Linked DNA regions of Homo sapiens: all the other regions are linked to region 5. Evidence: promoter capture Hi-C in human tissues and cell types (Jung and others, 2019). All regions are on one chromosome and are shown on one strand. Each heading gives the region's core, a stretch centred on a gene start or on the middle of the fragment in contact. The rest is flanking DNA. Distances are from core to core; before and after follow the strand shown.

What was found. The method cuts DNA at HindIII sites, captures the fragments that hold promoters and counts their contacts. A contact is called where the count stands out against the background at its distance.
Region 1: a fragment that was not itself captured here is called in contact with the fragment with the promoter of SCARF1 in region 5 in 1 of the 25 tissues and cell types used here (pancreas).
Region 2: a contact is called between the fragment with the promoter of BHLHA9 here and the fragment with the promoter of SCARF1 in region 5, in 1 of the 25 tissues and cell types used here (lymphoblastoid cells).
Region 3: a fragment that was not itself captured here is called in contact with the fragment with the promoter of SCARF1 in region 5 in 1 of the 25 tissues and cell types used here (lymphoblastoid cells).
Region 4: a contact is called between a fragment that was not itself captured here and the fragment with the promoter of SCARF1 in region 5, in 1 of the 25 tissues and cell types used here (bladder).
Region 6: a fragment that was not itself captured here is called in contact with the fragment with the promoter of SCARF1 in region 5 in 1 of the 25 tissues and cell types used here (lymphoblastoid cells).

What each region holds. Positions count from the first base shown.
Region 1 is chr17:1,193,578-1,196,562 of GRCh38, forward strand. It overlaps a transcript of ABR not described here. Among named protein-coding and RNA genes, the nearest start is that of ABR-AS1, 13 kb to the left of the region's middle. The HindIII fragment of the contact is 6,525 bases long and covers 1-2,985 here.
Region 2 is chr17:1,269,177-1,272,371 of GRCh38, forward strand. BHLHA9 (basic helix-loop-helix family member a9) reads left to right here and starts at 1,268. Exons shown (of 1, transcript NM_001164405.2): 1 at 1,268-2,639. The coding sequence starts at 1,388. The coding sequence ends at 2,095. RefSeq lists enhancers at 1-65, 1,670-2,420. The HindIII fragment of the contact is 29,201 bases long and covers 1-3,195 here.
Region 3 is chr17:1,345,786-1,348,746 of GRCh38, forward strand. All of the region lies in intron 5 of YWHAE (tyrosine 3-monooxygenase/tryptophan 5-monooxygenase activation protein epsilon), which reads right to left. Among named protein-coding and RNA genes, the nearest start is that of YWHAE, 53 kb to the right of the region's middle. RefSeq lists an enhancer at 1,930-2,224. The HindIII fragment of the contact is 6,466 bases long and covers 1-2,961 here.
Region 4 is chr17:1,920,888-1,924,198 of GRCh38, forward strand. No RefSeq gene overlaps it. Among named protein-coding and RNA genes, the nearest start is that of RPA1, 93 kb to the left of the region's middle. RefSeq lists a silencer at 1,226-1,408. The HindIII fragment of the contact is 9,514 bases long and covers 1-3,311 here.
Region 5 is chr17:1,644,352-1,647,203 of GRCh38, forward strand. It overlaps SCARF1 (scavenger receptor class F member 1), which reads right to left and starts at 1,381. Exons shown (of 11, transcript NM_003693.4): 1 at 1,246-1,381; 2 at 827-888; 3 at 483-584. The coding sequence starts at 1,346. It overlaps RILP (Rab interacting lysosomal protein), which reads right to left. Exons shown (of 8, transcript NM_031430.3): 7 at 2,555-2,638; 8 at 1,799-2,268. The coding sequence ends at 2,091. The HindIII fragment of the contact is 19,188 bases long and covers 1-2,852 here.
Region 6 is chr17:1,374,200-1,377,048 of GRCh38, forward strand. All of the region lies in intron 1 of YWHAE (tyrosine 3-monooxygenase/tryptophan 5-monooxygenase activation protein epsilon), which reads right to left. Among named protein-coding and RNA genes, the nearest start is that of YWHAE, 25 kb to the right of the region's middle. The HindIII fragment of the contact is 3,515 bases long and covers 1-2,849 here.

The sequences.
Region 1 (2,985 bases), core at 313-2,812, 450 kb before region 5:
GACCAGATGCCGCCCGACATTCACTCAGGAAGAGCTCGGTTTCCAGCACGCCAGGGAGTACTGGCAACTGACGCTAATTCAAGCACATCAGTGCAGCCCTTTTTGTTTGTGTGTTTTTATGTTTGAGATAGAGTCTCCCTCTGTCCCCCAGGCTGGAGTGTGGAGTGCAGTGGCACAATCTCGGCTCACTGCATCCTCCGCCTCCCAGGTTGAAGCGATTCACCTGCCTCAGCCTCCTGAATAACTGGGACTACAGGCACCCGCCACCACGCCCAGCTAATTTTTTTTTTGTATTTTTAATAGAGACGGGGTTTCACCGTGTTAGCCAGGATGGTTTTGATCTCCTGACCTCGTGATCTGCCCACCTTGGCCTCTCAAAGTGCTGGGATAACAGGCGTGAGCCCCGCGCCTGGCCACTGCAGCTCTTAAAGCTTACTCTCCAGGGGAAGTGGCAGAGGAAGGAAGACACAAAGATGAATTTCCATCCTCTTTCTCCTCTACTGAAATCTGACAAGCTCCTGGGTCTTTTGATTTCTCCTTGAACATGAGGTTTGTACCTGGAGGATCTCTGGTGGCAAGGGTGTTTCCTTTGTTTTTTTTTATTTATTTATATTTTGATTGATTGATTGAGACAGAGTCTCTCTCTGTCGCCCAGGCTGGAGTGCAATGGCACGATCTTGGCTCACTGCAACCTCCGCCTCCCGGGTTCAAGTAATTCTCTTGCCTCAGCCTCCCAAGTAGCTAAGATTACAGGTACACGCCACCACGCCCAGCTATTTTTTTGTTTTGTTTTGTATTTTTAGTAGAGAGGGGTTTCACCATGTTGGCCATGCTGGTCTCAACTCCTGACCTCAGGTGATCTGCCTGCCTCGTCTTCCCAAAGTGCTGGGATTACAGGTGTGAGACACTTCGCCCAGCCTTCTTTATTTTTTAGAGACAAGTCTCACTCTATCGCCCAGACTGGAGTGTAGTGGTGCAATCATAGCTCACTACAGTCTCGACCTCCCAGGCTCAAGCCATCCCCCTGCCTCAACTTCTTGCATAGCTAGGACTACAGGCATGCACCACCACACCCAGCTAATTTTTTTTTTTTTAAGATGGAGTCTCGCTCTGTTGCCCAGGCTGGAGTGCAGTGGTGCGGTCTCAGCTCACTGCAACCTCCACCTCCCGGGTTCAAGCAATCCTCCTGCCTCAGCCCCCCTAGTAGCTGGGATTACAGGCATGTGCCACCATGCCCTAAAAATTTTGTATTTTTAGTAGAGACAGGGTTTCGCCATGTTGGCCAGACTGGTCTCGAACTCCTGACTCAGGTGATTCACCCACCTCGGCCTCCTAAAGTGCTGGAATTACAGGTGTGAGCCACCGCGCCCGACCCTAATTTTTTTTTTAATTTTGTACAGACAGAACCTCACTATGTTGCCCAGGCTGCTCTTGAAGTCCTGGCCTCAGGCCAGGCGCGGTGGCTCACGCCTGTAATCCCAGCACTTTGGGAGGCCGAGGCGGGCGGATCACGAGGTCAGGAGATCGAGACCATCCTGGCTAACACGGTGAAACCCCGTCTCTACTAAAAATACAAAAAATTAGCCGGGCGCAGTGGCGGGCGCCTGTAGTCCCAGCTACTCGGGAGGCTGAGGCAGGAGAATGGCGTGAACCCGGAAGGCGGAGCTTGCAGTGAGCGGAGATCGCGCCACAGCACTCCAGCCTGGGCGACAGAATGAGACTGTCTCAAAAAAAAAAAAAAGTCCTGGCCTCAAAGGATCCTCCCACCTTGGCCTCTCCAAGTGCTGGGATTACAGGCGTGAGCCATCAGGCCCGGCCCTTAAGGGTGTTTTCTACTGCTACAGTGATTAACTAGTCTCTGGTGTATCTCTCTCCCAAAGGCAGCCCCCAGCCCTGCCTGACCCAGGCTCAGCAAGTAGCGTAAGGAGCATTTTAAAGAAAATTATTGGCTGGGCAGTGGCTCACGCCTGTCATCCCAGCACTGTGGGAGGCCGAGGCGGGTGGATCACGAGGTCAGGAGATCGAGACCATCCTGGCTAACACGGTGAAACCCCGTCTCTACTAAAAATACAACAAATTAGCCGGGCGTGGTGGTGGGCGCCTGTAGTCCCAGCTACACAGGAGGCTGAGGCAGGAGAATGGTGTGAACCCGGGAGGCAAAGGTTGCAGTGAGCCGAGATCGTGTCACTGCACTCCAGCCTGCGCAACAGAGCGAGACTCTGTCTCAAAAAAAAAAAATTATTGGCCGGCGCGGTGGCTCACGCCTGTAATCCCAGAACTTTGGGAAGGCAAGTTGGGATTGTGGGGAGAGATCACTTGAGGTCAGGGATCACTTGAGGTCAGGAGTGCGAGACGAGCCTGGGCAACATGGCAAAACCCCATCTCTACTAAAAATACAAAAATTAGCCAGGCATGGTAGCAGGTGCCTGTAATCCCAGGTACTCAGGTGGCTGAGGCACGAGGATCGCTTGAACCAAGAAGGAGAAGGTTGCAGTGAGCCGAGATCACGACACTGCACTCCAGCCTGAGCAACAGAGCGAGATTCTGTCTCAAAAAAAAAAAAAAAAATAGGCAAGGTGCGGTGGCTCACGCCTATAATCCCGGCACTTTGGGAGGCCGAGGCAGGCGGATCACCTGAGGTCAGGAGTTCAAGACCAGCCTGGCCAACATGGCGAAACCCTCTTTCTACTACAAATACAAAAATTAGCTGGGCATGGTGGCACGTGCCTGTAATCCCAGCTACTCGGGAGGCTGAGGCAGGAGAATCACTTGAACCCAGGAGGTGGAGGTCACAGTGAGCTGACATCACACCACTGCACTCCAGCCTGGGTGACAAGAGTGAAAACTCTGGCCCAAAAAACAAATTAATTAATTAAATTTAATTTAGAAAAGATTTCTTAGCTAACTTCTCAGAGGAACATAGGACAAAACTGGGTATTAACTCTACATCCTGCCTCACCCACCCCCTCCCTAAATGTTGATGAC
Region 2 (3,195 bases), core at 18-2,517, 380 kb before region 5:
ATAATGGGGTTATTGGCAATGCTCTTTTGGCGAGATGGATGTGAACCACACACCCATTCCAATGCCATAGGCCTTGGCATCTTAGAGGCATTTGGATTGTGACTGGGAATGAGTGGCCTTCAGGCGCTCCAAATAACTCAGCTGTGGATGCCGGAAATTCTACTGGGGGTCTTTCTTTGGGAATAAACATCATCTTTTTTCTGAGACCCTCTTTCAAATGCAAATCCCTGGGGGAAGAGGACAGAGGCTGCTCATTGAGTTCATAACCTGGCAGGGCTGTGTCACAAGATGGGGCTGCCCGAGGGCTCTGGACCCCAAAGATGCCCCTGATGTGGACCCAGGGCTGCAAAGGGATCTTCCCCGTCACCCTCTGCTGCTGACTCATCCCAGCTCTGCCTGCAGAAGGGGAGTCAAAGGGCAGTGGAGGGAGAGTCAGGCCCAACCAAAACCCGAACCCCAATTGCAGCCAGCCGCCCTCCATAGCTGAAAAAGCCGGAAGCTCTGGGTCAGCTTTACCTGCAGGGCCCTGCGCCTCCCATATGAGTCCTGCCGGGACACTCATGCTTTTCCTCAGTGACATCTCTGTGGTTGCCCACGGGACTTGACAAGAACTTTCAAGGTTTTGTTGTTGTTTTTGTTGTTGTTTTTCTGAGACGGAGTCTCGTTCTGTCTCCCAGGCTAGAGTGCAGTGGTGCGATCTCGGCTCACTGCAACCTCCAGCTCCTGGGCTCAAGCCATTCTCCTGCCTCAGCCTCCCGAGTAACTGGGATTACAGGCGCCTGCCACCACGCCCGGCTAATTTTTGTGTTTTTAGTAGACGGGGTTTTATATACTCTGTTGGCCAGGCTGGTCTCGAACTCCTGAACTCAAGTGATCCGCCCGCCTCGGCCTCCCAAACTGCTGGGATGACAGGCGTGAGCCCCAGTGCCCGGCCCTCTGCCTCTTTTTATTCCTATCAGCTCTCCTGCTAGAAGCCAAACTTAGCACCTTATCTGGGAATGGGGAGGAAGAATGTGGAACCCAGACACCCCACAGCGGCCCCAGAGCTAGGCAGGGCAAGGTCCCCGGGGCAGCGTGGCCGGGCTGCCCGTCTGGTCCCCGCTTACAAGAACCTGCAAGCTTCCCTCCTTGCTTTCCTTCTTCCCCTCGGTTCCTCCCCCGCCGACCTACCTGGAGGCCGATAATAAAGCAGGAGGAGGGAGATGGATGGACGGGAGGGCGGGGCGCCGCGTGGTGCCATAAAGCCCAGCTGGAAGGGGCCTGTCTCGGGAGTGTCCAGCCCCAGGAGCCGGGGACCGTCCGCGTCGCGAGCCGGGCCAAGGCAGTGGGCAGAGGGCAGAGGGCAGAGGGCCGGGGCTGGGGCAGAGGGCGAGTGCCCGGGAAGGCCATGCTGCGGGGCGCGCCAGGACTAGGCCTCACGGCGCGGAAGGGGGCCGAGGACTCTGCGGAGGACTTGGGGGGCCCCTGCCCCGAGCCCGGGGGCGATTCGGGGGTGCTGGGGGCGAACGGCGCTTCCTGCAGCCGGGGCGAGGCGGAGGAGCCGGCGGGCAGGAGGCGCGCGCGGCCGGTGCGGTCCAAGGCGCGGCGCATGGCCGCCAACGTGCGGGAGCGCAAGCGCATCCTAGACTACAACGAGGCCTTCAACGCGCTGCGCCGGGCGCTGCGGCACGACCTGGGCGGCAAGAGGCTCTCCAAGATCGCCACGCTGCGCAGGGCCATCCACCGCATCGCCGCGCTCTCCCTGGTCCTGCGCGCCAGCCCCGCGCCCCGCGGGCCCTGCGGACACCTGGAGTGCCACGGCCCGGCCGCGCGCGGGGACACCGGGGACACAGGCGCCAGCCCCCCGCCGCCTGCAGGGCCCAGCCTCGCGCGCCCAGACGCCGCCCGCCCCTCGGTGCCGTCCGCGCCCCGCTGCGCCTCGTGCCCCCCGCACGCGCCCCTGGCACGGCCCAGTGCGGTGGCCGAGGGGCCGGGCCTAGCACAGGCCTCCGGGGGAAGCTGGCGCCGCTGTCCGGGGGCTTCCTCTGCCGGGCCGCCTCCCTGGCCGCGGGGCTACCTGCGATCCGCCCCCGGGATGGGCCATCCGCGCTCCTGACCGGCCTCGAGGCACCGGCTGGGCTGCAGGGAGGCCGGGCTGGCAGCTGGACTATAAAACCCGGGACTGCAAAGGCGTCTTGGACAGAGCAGAACTGGACCGGCTGAGACCTGGCGTGGAAGAGAAGGAGCTCGCCAGAGAGAAGGAGCTCCGGGACCCGGGGTTGCGCCCCCACATCCCAGCCTGGGGCAGAGAGAAGGAGCTCCGGGGCCTGGGGCTGCGCCCCCACATCCCAGCCTAGGGAGGCAGTTGCCAGAAAGGCTCAGGATCCTGAACTCATCTTGGACTCGAACTCGTCTTGGAATGCCGCCTTCGCACTCCTGCGCCTCCGAGCCCTGTGTGTTCTCGATGCTTTTAGGAGAGTGAGGGCTTTGAGGCAGGAGGTGTGGGAGCGTGGGAATGCGGGTGGGGCCTGCTGTGGTCTCGTGGGCACATGAGTGCGGAGTCCCCTTCCCTGCCTGCGCTGCTGCCCAAGCCTGATCCGGGAGAGGCAGGATCCGGGAGAGGCAGGCAGGGGCAGCAGCCAAATAAAAGGAAAAACTCATTTCTCTCCGATACCACGACTCCAGTGGGCCCCGTGGCCCAGGGTGGCAGGAACGCCTGAGGGCTGGGGGCTCTCCTTGGAATGCTGGGCGGGGCCTAAGGCCCACAGGTAGGCGCCTGGGGGAACTCATTCATGGCAAGACCCCAGGTGTGGCTGAGCACTGTGGGAGCCCAAGGGGAGGAAAGAGACATCCAGAGACCCCTCCTCCCTGAGTCCCCTGGGGTGGAAGAGGATATCAGGAGAGGGGTCACGGGGCCTGGGAGTCTAAGGATGGGGTCAGCCCCGTCTCTGGACCTCCCTGCAGAGCTGCCTGGAAGCAGCCACAGTGAAGGGGGACTCTGGCCAGGTCTCAGGGAAGGAGGCCAAGGGCAGGGCTAGGATTGGGGGCCGGTAAGTCCTGCGTGCATGTACCCCGAGCGACAGGCAGGAAGAGCTCCCAGGGAACCGTGGGCCAGGGCCCCCATAATGAGGGGCCGACTTGGAACCCAGGAAGGATTCTGGGGAGGGGGTTGAGTGAGGGCAGAGGGGCCTCAGGCCAAGCCTGCTGAGCTAGTGA
Region 3 (2,961 bases), core at 9-2,508, 300 kb before region 5:
ATCTTACTAAAATGACATTCAAGCTTTCACATAAATCTTGGGTCAAAATACTCTTTCTCAATAACCTCACCTCTTCAAGAATCAAGAGTATTTTGCAAACTTTTTGCAAAATCTAATTTACCCACAAGCTAATTATCAGAAATGCTTCAAAATAGTTAACTGAGCAATAAACTGTTGCCAAGAAGTTCTATCGTATTTTATTGTGGGGTTCTGCTGTTATAAATATTTCAGCTTTTGTATCTTGGCCAGATACACCAAACTATAATCAGATTTTACTTCAGAGTGAAACACAGCATGCTCAAAGTAAATCAGACCACTGAGGTTATTAAAGAATGGCATTTGGACCACTTCACTCATGCTATTTGTCTTTTGCCTTTAAAGAGGGTGATTACCCTAAGGAGTTTCAACTGCACTATGACATGCAACAGAAAGCCACCTATTGGTTGGAGGGTCATCTACCTATTAGTATGCATTAAACAAGTCAGCCAAAATAAAGAAGCATGCAGGCTTTTCCCTTAAAAATGATGTAACAGGTAAAAGTTACATTCACTTGTACTTTTTTAAAAAAACCACTTACAATTACTACACAGTTAACTAGTTTGAAACAAAATAAATGAAAAATCAACCCAAGAATCATAAATGTTCAAATGACTATCCATTCATAATGCTTGTTAAATTATTTAATTAGGATGGACAAATAACACCAAACTAGCTGCCTACACACATGAAGCATTTACACTGAGTACAGCTTTGAAACAGCCTAAATGATCTCAAAATGACAAATGTCACAGCATCAAGGTTTCAGTAGTTTTCAAATCTCTTCTGCGGCGGAAACGCTTGACATTGCTGTGTGACTTCAAAACCCACTTACAGCCTCAGCAACACAGTGAAGCCCTGTCTCTACAAAAAATGAACATAACGCCGGGCACGGTGGCTCACGCCTGTAATCCCAGCACTTTGGGAAGCAAAGGCGGGCGGATCACGAGGTCAGAAGATCAAGACCATCCTGGCTAACACAGTAAATCCCCATCTCTACTGAAAAAATAATACAAAAAATTAGCCTGGCGTGGTGGCACATGCCTGTAATCCCAGCTACCTGGGAAGCTGAGGCATGAGAATTGCTTGAACCCAGGAGACGGAGGTTGCAGCGAGCCAAGAACATGCCACTACACTCCAGCCTGGGTAACAGAGTGAGACTCCGTCTCAAAAAAAAAAAAAAAAGAATAAATAAAACTAAAAGTAAAAAACTATGTATGCTGGAGCCAGGCATGGTGGCTCACGCCTGTAATACCAGCACTTTGGGAGGCCAAGAGAGGTGGATCATGAGGTCAGGAGATCGAGACCATCCTGGCTAACACAGTGAAACCCTGTCTCTACTAAAAATACAAAAAAAAAAAAAAAAAATTAGCCAGGCATGGTGGCAGGCGCCTGTAGTCCCAGCTACTCGGGAGGCAGGAGAATGGCGTGAACCCAGGAGGCGGAGCTTTCAGTGAGCCAAGATTCTGCCGCTGCACTCCAGCCTGGGCGACAATCGAGACTCCGTCTCAAAAAAAAAAAAAACTACATACGCTGGGCATGGGGCCACATGTCTATAGTCCCAGCTACTTGGGGGGCTGAGGTGGGGGAGTTCTATTTCTGCAGTGAGCTTTGAACGCCACTGCACTCCAGGCGGGGCAACAAGAGCAAAACTCCGTCTCAAAAAAATGTATAAAATTTTAAAACTACTTAAAATACATGAAGATCTTTAATTCATAAGACAGAAAAAAAATATGCAAAGGCAAAAAAAAATTGCTTAGGGATGAAAGAACTGATGGGCACCCAACTGTTCTCCAAAGGACAATAACGTATTCAAACGTAGGAAACATGATAGGAACATTCACTCTAACAGCAAATCACTGCCAAAGTATCATTAACACAAACACTAGAACACAACTCGCTTGTAAGCAACCATGAGATGTGCCAGAAGTTCCAAGTAACTTTGGCATAAAAATGTCACTGTCATATACATCACATCCAACCACAGTAGGCAGGAGGAGCAGGCCGGAAAAGGCTTAGGTCAGCGCCCTGGAAGGTGGAACAGGCAGAGTCTGTAAGCAACAGGACGATCATACGCAGGCATGATTAGTGAAGAACCAAAACTGAAAGCGGAATTCACTGTGCCATGAACGTGACTTACAAAGTAGAGTTTTTAGGAAAGGAAGAGTTGGGTTTTCCTTTAGGAATCTATATTGCAAGGAAAAAGGGAGGGAGAACAATCATATGAAAGCAACATTACAAGAAAAATAAACCAACAGAGCAGGACAAAGGAAAACAATGATACAGGAGCCGGACTTTGGTCTTACTTCGTGTAAACTTCACTCTAAGCAACAATCTGTCTACTCCTCCTCCCTTCTACTCTGAGAAGGAAGTAATATCCTCTTGAAAGACATACAGATATTAGGGGAAAAAGGATTCCTTGGCTATGTTTCTTTGCCCAGTGTATCTACATTTTGGAGAGAGGGGAACAGGCAGGGAGAACATGTATTTCCTACCTATGGATTCGTATATGAAACAATCCTCTTACCACAGGGTGAAGAGACTAAAATCACTTGAGAAAAAGCAATGATCCCTCCCTTTAAAGAAATTATGTTCCAACATGCTGGGACAGACATTAACATATTCTAAAATTAAAAGACATAAATACCGTCTCTTTAAAAAACAAAAAAATCTAAATAATCCTTAAACTAAATGCAAAGTCACATCCTAGTAAACTGCCACTTTCATGACGATTCTCCTATATTCACCACGGAACCCAAGTCACAAAAGTAGTATTTTATTTTGTGAGATGAAGTTTTATCTTGCCCAAGCTGGTGTCAAACTCCTGGGCTCAAGTGATCCTTCTGCCTCACCTTGCTGAACAGCCGAGATTACAGGCAGGCACCATTGCAGTTTCAAAACCAATTTATTAAAAAATGTAGGCCG
Region 4 (3,311 bases), core at 700-3,199, 280 kb after region 5:
GGCTTAGCAAAAAACTCAATACATTAATGTTTCGTTGCAAATCGGTAAAATCGCAATCACAGGCTCCCCTTGTCTCCAAACTAGCATTTGGAAGCCAGTGTTCCCAGGGAGCTTGGAGCCTGCCAGTTGCCACAGCTTTTAGGATGACAAGGAAGCAGATTGCCTGGGTTTAAAATTCCGTTGCTGGCGTCTTCTGGAACCAGCCGCTCCATCCTTTCCCCCACCACCCCCGCCCCGTTTTCCTTGTGTGACAGAGTGGAGGAGTAGACGATTGGGTCGAAACCAAATTGGTCAAAAGGACAAACTGGTCAAGAGCGACTATTTCCGCCGCAGCCTTGGCTGTTCCACAAGCCGGTTCTGCCAAGGACTCGTCATCCCCAGGCGGAGTGCCACCTACATGCCAGGTGGGAGGCGGCGTTGCGGAGGAGCCGCTGAGGGTGAAACGAAGGAGTCCGGGCCAGTTCTTAGCCTTTTTCAGGATCTGATGAAAAGGCCGTGCTGGCCTGCACCTGTGGGCCCAGCTACTCAGGAGGCTGAGGCAGGAGGTTCGCTTGAGCCCAGGAGTTTGAGACCAGCCTGGGCAACAGAGGAAGACCCTGTCCCAAAAATATAAATTAATTTATTTATTAATTAAAAGAAAAAAAAAAAGGCCAGGCGCGGTGGCTCATGCCTGTAATCCCAGCACTTTAGGAGGTCGAGGCGGGTGGATCACCTGAGGTCAGGAGTTTGAGACCAGCCTGGCCAACATGGTGAAAGCCTGCCTCTACTAAAAATACAAAAATTAGCCAAGCGTGGTGATGGGCGCCTGTAATCCCAGCTACTTGGGAGGCTGAGGCAGGAGAATCAGTTGAACCCGGGAGGTGGAGGCTGCAGTGAGCCGAGATGGTGCCATTGTACTCCAGCCTGGGCAACAGAGTGAGACTCCATCTGCTTTTGGCTGGGCGCAGTGGCTCACGCCTGTAATCTCAGCATTTTGGGAGGCCGAGGGGCGGATCACGAGGTCAGGAGATCGAGACCATCCTGGCTAACATGGTGAAACCCCGTCTCTACTAAAAACACAAAAAATTAGCTGGGTGTGGTAGTGGGCGCCTGTAGTCCCAGCTACTCAGGAGGCTGAGGCAGGAGACTCACTTGGACCCAGGAGGTGGAGGTTGCAGTGAGCCGAGATCGTGGCACTGCACTCCAGCCTGGGCAACAGAGCAAGACTGTGTCTCAAAAAAAAAAGAAAAAGAAAAGAAAAAGAAAAAGAAAGCTCTCTCTGGCCGGGCGCGGTGGCTCACAGCTGTAATCCCAGCACTTTGGGAGGCCGAGGCAGGTGGATCACGAGGTCAGGAGATGAGACCATCCTGGCTAACACGGTGAAACCCCGTCTCTACTAAAAATACAAAAAAATTAGCCAGGTGTGGTGGCGGGCGCCTGTAGTCCCAGCTACTCGGGAGGCTGAGTCAGGAGAATGGTGTGAACCCAGGAGGCAGAGCTTGCAGTGAGCCGAGATCCGGCCACTGCACACCAGCCTGGGCGACAGAGTGAAACTACCTCTCAAAAAAAAAAAACAGAAAGAGAAAGAAAGCTCTCTCTGGAAACCTGCACATTCCAGGGGCCCTGCATTGAATTCCAGGAGGTTTGTGAACACCTCCTTCATCTCCCCAAACTTGTTAGGGGGACTCTGGCCAATAATCCTGCATCTGGACAAACACTTCTCATTTTCCACTTCTCAGTTCAATGATATAATGACATTTAAAATCCTAAAATTTCATTCATAAATATCCAAGAAAAAAAGAAAAGGACTATTCCTTCCTTGTCCCTGTTGGAAGCTTTATTTTTTTCCTTATCAAAGTTGTTTGAATATGTGGAAACTTTACCCAAATAGGTAAAATTAATATCACTAACTGAAAAATATATATATATATATATATATATATATATATATATATATATATATATATATATTTGGAGCAGAGGTTTAATAGGCAAAAGAAAGAGAAAGGAGAAAGGTAAACAGCTCTCTCTCTAGTGAGAGAGAAGGAACTTCTGAGATGAAAAGGCCCAGTTTTTTTTTTTTTTTTGATGGAGACTTACTCTGTCGCCCAGGCTGGAGTGCAGTGGCTCGATCTCGGCTCACTGCAAGCTCTGCCTCCAGGGTTCAAGCCATTCTCCTGCCTCAGCCTCCCGATGAGCTGGGACTACAGGCGCCCGCCATCACGCCTGGCTCTAATTTTTGTATTTTTAGTAGAGACGGGGTTTCACCGTGTTAGCCAGGATGGTCTCCATCTCTTGACCTCGTGATCTGCCCGCCTCAGCCTCCCAACATGCTAGGATTACAGGCCTGAGCCACCGCACCCGGCCCAAAATATATTTTTTTTATGGTGAATTAACAGGGAGTTACGCAAAATATTACCATTGAGGGAAACTGGGTGAAAGGGCTCCAGGACCTCCCTGCTGCTTTCTTTTTTTCAGTTTCCTGTGAACCTGTAAGTATTTCCAAATAAAAAGAAAAAAACTAAGACACATTGTAAAATGTTGTAGTATCACCTAGGATAAATTGATATATGAATTAGTGGTTGCCCGTTCAGTTTTTAAGCCAATTTGCTATTAGACCATTTAAAATTGGAAACAAAATATTAAAATCCATGAAAATATTCCAAATAAGAAAAGTAGACATATTTGATTGAAATTAACATGAAAATTTTGAGACAATTTTTCAAATGAGCAAAAACAGTGAAAAGAAAATATAAATTCCAAGGACAGTCCCGGGATTCACAAAAGCTCTTGAGAAGAGGCCTAAAACTGTCACCAGACCCAGCTAATTTTTTTTTTTTTTTTTTTTTGAGACAGGGTCTAACTCAGTCACTCAGGCTGGAGTACAGCGGCACAATCACAGTTCACTGCACCCTTGAACCCCTGGGCTCAAGTGATTCTCCCACCTCAGCCTCCTGGGTACCTGGGACCACAGGCACATGCCACCGTGCCTGGCTAATTTATTTTTTATTTTATTTTATTATTATTATTTTTTTGAGACAGAGTTTCGCTTTTTGTTGACCAGGCTGGAATGCAATGACACGATCTTGGCTCACCGCAACCTCTGCCTCCCAGGTTCAAGCGATTCTCCTGCCTCAGCCTCCCGAGTAGCTGGGATGACAGGCATGCGCCACCACACCCGGCTGATTTTTTTTTATTTTTATTTTTATTTTTAGTAGAGACAGGGTTTCTCCATGTTGATCAGGCTGGTCTCGAACTCCTGACCTCACGTGATCCACCTGCCTCAGCCTCCCAAAGTGCTGGGATTACAGGCGTGAGCCATTGTGCCCAGC
Region 5 (2,852 bases), core at 131-2,630:
ACTGCCCGCCAGGGTGTCGGGAGAAGCCACCTTTCCCCTAGTGATTCCTTGATTCCTGATGCCCACCCTCTGGCTCTCCTGCTTCCCAACCCCTTTCCCTTCCCTCTCTTTCTGCCAGAGAGGGCAGAGAGCCCAGCCAGGGGCCCCCTTCCATCCACTGCCCATGTATAAGGTATATGTGGGAAAGGCAAGTAATACACTCATTTTACAATGAAGGGGAATCACAGGTTTTCTGAGAAGTGGAAGAGGAAGATGCTCAGGTGGGCAGTGCTTTGTGGATGTGGGTAAAAACCCGGTGACTCAGGTCATCTCCCGGGAGTGTGTGTCACTTCCTGTCTCTGGACCGCAATTCCTCAGTGAAGCTGGGGGGGATTCTGGCCCTGCTGTCCTGAGGCTGCATGGCTACCTGCCTCGCCTGCTCCCACACCACTGCCCCCGTACCCAGCTCTGCCCAGCAACTTCATCTGGCCCTTGAGACTCACGGGAGCTGCAGTGGGCCCCAAAGAATCCAGGCTTGCATCGACAGAGGCCCGGCTTCACACACACCTCGTCTTTCTGGCAGGCGTCCGGCCCCTCACAGATGGCTGAAAGACACCCCACCCAGGTTGGAAAGACGGGAGCAGGACCAGGGGACACCCCTGCCCTCTCACTGGCTCCAGGGGCCATGCCTCCTCAAGAGGTGCCCCTTCAGGCCTGGGGGTGCGTCACAGGAGAAACCCTGACTCCTGGTATCAGGAGGGGCAGGCCCCATGGGGTAGGAAGGAAGGGTTGTCACTGGGCTACGGCCTCCCTTCTCCTTGGCTGAGGGTCTGTCCTGGCTACTCACGGATGGTGCATTCTTGATCCTTCTGCCTCCAGCCTGCGCAGCACTGCAGCTCAGCAGAGGGGCTGTGGGGCAAAAAGGGGTCAGCCGGACATGGTGGGGGGTGCAGCCTGGCCCTGAGGAAGGTGGATCACTGTCTCTGGCTGCAGTGGGGGAGGCTGCCTTAGCCCCCTGGGGAGGCCTAATGGATCTTTACAGCTAGGGTCCCCAGCCCCTCCCCTCTCCTTCCCTGACCCTTCCACCATCTGCCCTGGCTGGCCACTACCTGCCAGACCGCCATCAGCAGTCCCTTCCTTTCAGCCTAAGCCCCCTTCCTAGTCTCCTCCTTCCCCTAACGGCCTCAACACCGGTTCAGCCACCCGCATCAGACTCCCACGAGACCCACCTGCTGGCCACACGCATCAGACTCCCACGAGACCCACCTGCTGGCCACACAGACGTGCTGCCCTTTGGGGTCCAGCTCGGACCCCTGAGTCCCCCGAGTCCAGAGCAGCAGCAGCGGGAGCAGCAGCCCCAGCCCCATGGCAGGCAGCTCGGTGGGAGCGCTCGGGTTCGTCTGGCCCCCACAGCTCCCAACCCCCTCCCTGCTTCCTCTCAGGGCTTTTCCTGAGGAAACCAGGCCGGAGGGGCGGGCTGCCACGAGGCACCTCCCTGAGAGGGAGGGGGTGGCTGGAAAGACTGACACTCAAAAAAAGAAAGGGAAAGAAAGGCAATGGCAGGGCTGACTGGCCTGGGCCTGGAAGGGCCAGAAGAATGAAGTTGCAGGTCCCTGGGTGCCGGGGCCAGGGAAGGGGGTGGACTGAGGCTGGGAGCCACGGCTTTCCATCAGGCCACACTCCCAAAGCAAGGCCTGAGCTGCAAGAAGCCACCCCACCCAGTGACTGAGCAAGGAGACCAGCGAGGACCCCTCAGCCTGCCTCTGCTCCTGGCAGGGTTGGGAGGTGGCACAGACATGGACAGACAGGCGAGGAACAGTTTCTGTGTATTACGGGCAGTTCTTTATTACATGAGCTCAGGCCGTCTGCACAAAGCCCTGGGAGCTAGGCAGTCAGCTCTCATTTCATGGATGGGGAAACTGAGACTCAGAGAGGCACTCTTATATCTGGCCCCAGAGGCTCGGTACAGAGACGTAGAGAGGGAGGCGGGCTGAGACCCCGTCCTGCCCTGATGCAGGCCAGGATTGGGGCAGACCCCTGGCGAGGGCTGTGAAGGCGGGAGCCCTGTCCTCATTTGAGGCCACACATCCTTCCACAGCCAGACCCCTAAGTCAGGCCTCTGGGGCGGCTGAGGCCCCCAGACAAAGGTGTTCGTGGAGGGCAGAACAGGGCGGATCAGGAGCTGGAGACTGTGGTTGGGCCTCCTCTTCTCCCCCTAGCTTGCTGGGTGCAGGGCTGCTGGTCTCATCCTCAGAGGATTCAGCTTTACCCCGATACCATAGGCCAAAGCTGGAGAGAGACAGCCAGAGGCACTTTGAGCCAGGAAGCCAGAGAGGTCAAGGATATGGGTGAGGGCAGGGGATGGTGAGAAAAGGGGAGAGGGGGAAGAAAGGGCAGCCTGAGGGAGTGTGAAGGTGATGGGGGCCAGGGCCAGAGAAGCAGGAGGGGACGGTGTGCTTAGAGCCAAGCACAGCAGGGTGACGGGCAGAGAAGCGGGAAAGGGGATCCTGAGAAGGACCAGCCAGGGCCCTTCCTCCCTCCCCACACTCTTGCCTTTCCCCTTTCCCCAACATACAAACTCTGTATTTTGGACTCCGGGGGTGGGGGATGGTCTCCCTTGTCATCGGAGAGCAGGATCCATGGGCCAGCCTCATCCTCACTGAGACAGAGGAGAGAGGAGAAGTGAGGGCCATTGATCAAGGCCCTGAGGGACAACAGGAATCCAGCAGGGGGGATGGAGGGACTGCAGGGCCCCCGGGGCTGGAGAGAAGGCAACCCTGGGGAGATGCAGGATGTCGAGCCTTTAATTTTTAATTTTTTTTTTTTTGAGACAGGGTCTCACTCTGTCGCCCAGGCTGGAGTGCAGTGGTGCG
Region 6 (2,849 bases), core at 278-2,777, 270 kb before region 5:
CCCAGCTACTCGGGAGGCTGAAGCAGGACAACTGCTTGAACACGGGAGGCGGAGGTTGCAGTGACCCGAGATCGTGCCACTGAACTCCAGCCTGGCAACAGAGCGAGACTTGGTCTCAGGAAAAAAAAAAAAAAATCCATTCGTTAGTTAATGAACATTTGGGTTGTTTCCATTTTTGGACTATTATAAACAATGCTGCTACGAACGTTCTTTAAGTTTTTGTATGAATAAATGCTTTCAGTTCACTTCAGTATACACCTAGAAGGAACTTCAGGATCACATGGTAACTAGCTTTTTGAGGAAGGACATCCCAAACTTTTCTACAGGAGCGGCACCGTTTTTACACTCCCACCAGCAACACAGGATTCTAATCTGGCCACGTCCTCAGGAACACTTGTTAGTTATTCTTTAAACTAGTCATCCTAGTGGGTGTGAAGCTGTATCTCTTTGTGGTTTTGATTTGCATTTCCTTGATAACTAATAGTGTTGAACACCTTTTCATGTGCTTATGAGCCTTTTGCGTATGTTCTCTGGAGAAATATCTATTCAAACACTTTGCCAAATATTTAATTATTTGTCTTTTCATTATTGGTATGTAGGAGTTGTTCATTTTTAAAACCCCACTGACTCCTCTTAATTCCCCCAACCCCCTCTGCATCCCTTAAGGTAGCAGATTAAGGAACAGAAGTAGCATTGAGTCAGGAGACACTTCTATTGCTTCAAGAGACAGGGTCTCACTACGTTGCCCTGACTGTATGTCGTGCAGTGGCTATTCACAGGCCCATGATCACAGCGCACTATGTAGCCTTAAACTCCTGGCCTCGAGTGATCCTCCCACCTCAGCCTCCCAAGTAACTGGGACTATAGGTGCACACTACCAAGCACATCACTCCTTCAAGAGTATGGAAAGTCAACTTCTCAATCTCTCCAAACATTCTACGACCAGTGCTTTGTACCAGTTTGTACAAATAACGACTACAATGACACTCTCTTCCAATATCACTGTCATCTTTATCCTTTTAACACCAGCAACAGAAACATAATACTAATGATAATGTACCCCAAAACTATATAAGAAAAGCTGATTTATCCAAAACTCTAGACTAACTACACCCTTCAGCCCTCCCTCAGTAGAGGATGAACTCCAACCATTATATTCACATAAAGGCCCTCAACACAACTAGCATTTCCTGAAATCACCTTTGCGGCAAGTATTTTATCAGTGGGATGTGGGCATTTCACGGGTGGGGGAAGGCTGTCATGTGTTTGCAGCAGGTGGGATCGCAATTTAAGAACCAAAAAACTGAAATGGTTGAAATCACTTCTTTTGGATCCACGGGCAGTTTTGCTACAGTAATTTTGAGTAACAAAATCGAATTTCTGGGACTTTTCATGGTTTGGGGACAAGGGTGGGTGATTAAAATCGCCACTCTGAAAAACATACTCCTCACAAGTTAATTAAACATAGTTAAGTCTCTTTAGTTCCAAGTAAGTTTCCCTTCATTGTATGGTAATAGCCTAGACACAGATCCACCACATGGAACCAGCTTGTGTCTGGGACACCCATCATCTGCTGCTGCCAGTAGAGTCACAAGTTTTTCCCCTTGACTTGTTAACTGAGGTTTGGTTTGTGGTTGTGTTCTTTCAACTATGTTGTTCATTCAACAGACTAATTCATAAATAAAACACCCCATTTCAACTATGTTGTTCATTCAACAGACTTATTCACAAATAAAACCCCCCATGCTAAAATAGGCACTGTTCCAAATGCTTCGCTGTATTAATGTGCTTAATCTTCTCAACAGACCTCTGAAGTGGGTACCAGTATTATCCCATTTTAGAATATCTCCATATACTGAAGAACACGAAGGTTAAACTTGTTCCAGATCACAAAGCCAGTGGACTACAACTCAGGGAATCTGACTTGAGTTGTGCTTTGATTTAATCATATTGCCTCAGATTTGAATATTTATTTGAATGCATCTGTACGAGGATCCTTTTGTTTGCTTCTGTGACAATAGAGGGGAAATAACTGGTTTCAGTGACTCTACCAGAGAAACAAGTTTCACATACTAAAATGTGGTTGAGACCCAGGCATGGTGGCGTCTGCCACCATGAGAGAAAGAACGAAGACAGAAAGACAGACAGAAAGACAAGAAAGACAGACAGACAGACAGAAAGAAAGAAAAAGAAAGAGAGAGAAAGAAAGAAAAGAAAAGAAGGAAAGAAGTTCACTCCTGCTTAAAACGCATTTCTTTTTCCACCTAGAGGTTCACCCCTCTCCCAAAAAAAGCTTACTTTATTCTTTTCTCTTAAAGAGACGGGAGTCTTTGTATGTTGCCCAGGCTGGTCTCCAACTCCTGGGCTCAAGCAATCCTCCCACCTCAGCCTCCTGAATACAAAAAGCTTAGTTTCATACCTCTAATATCTTTACATCAACATCCCAGTAAACCTGATTTTCCCAAGACTGTCCTTGCCAGGTAGTAAAACAAGTCTCTGCTGAGCTTCAACAGTTTCTGATAAACACAAAGTACAAAATCATAAAAGGAGCAGGTCTCCAACTATCAGGCTGACAAGTCACAAGGCACAATTTACAGCTCCTAATGAAATTCAGGGTCAGGAAAAAAGCAAACTGTTCAGAATCTGCCATGGGAAAAACGAGCAGGTTCTGTACTGGCTGACAGGATTAATGTTCCTCTTACCAAAGCACACAGGGTCATAACCCTAACTTTTTTTTTTTTTTTTGAGACAGAGTCTAGCTCTGTTGCCCAGGCTGAAGTGCAATCTCACTGCAACCTCCATCTCCCATGTTCAAGTGATGCTCTTGCCCCAGCCTCCCTGGTAGTTAG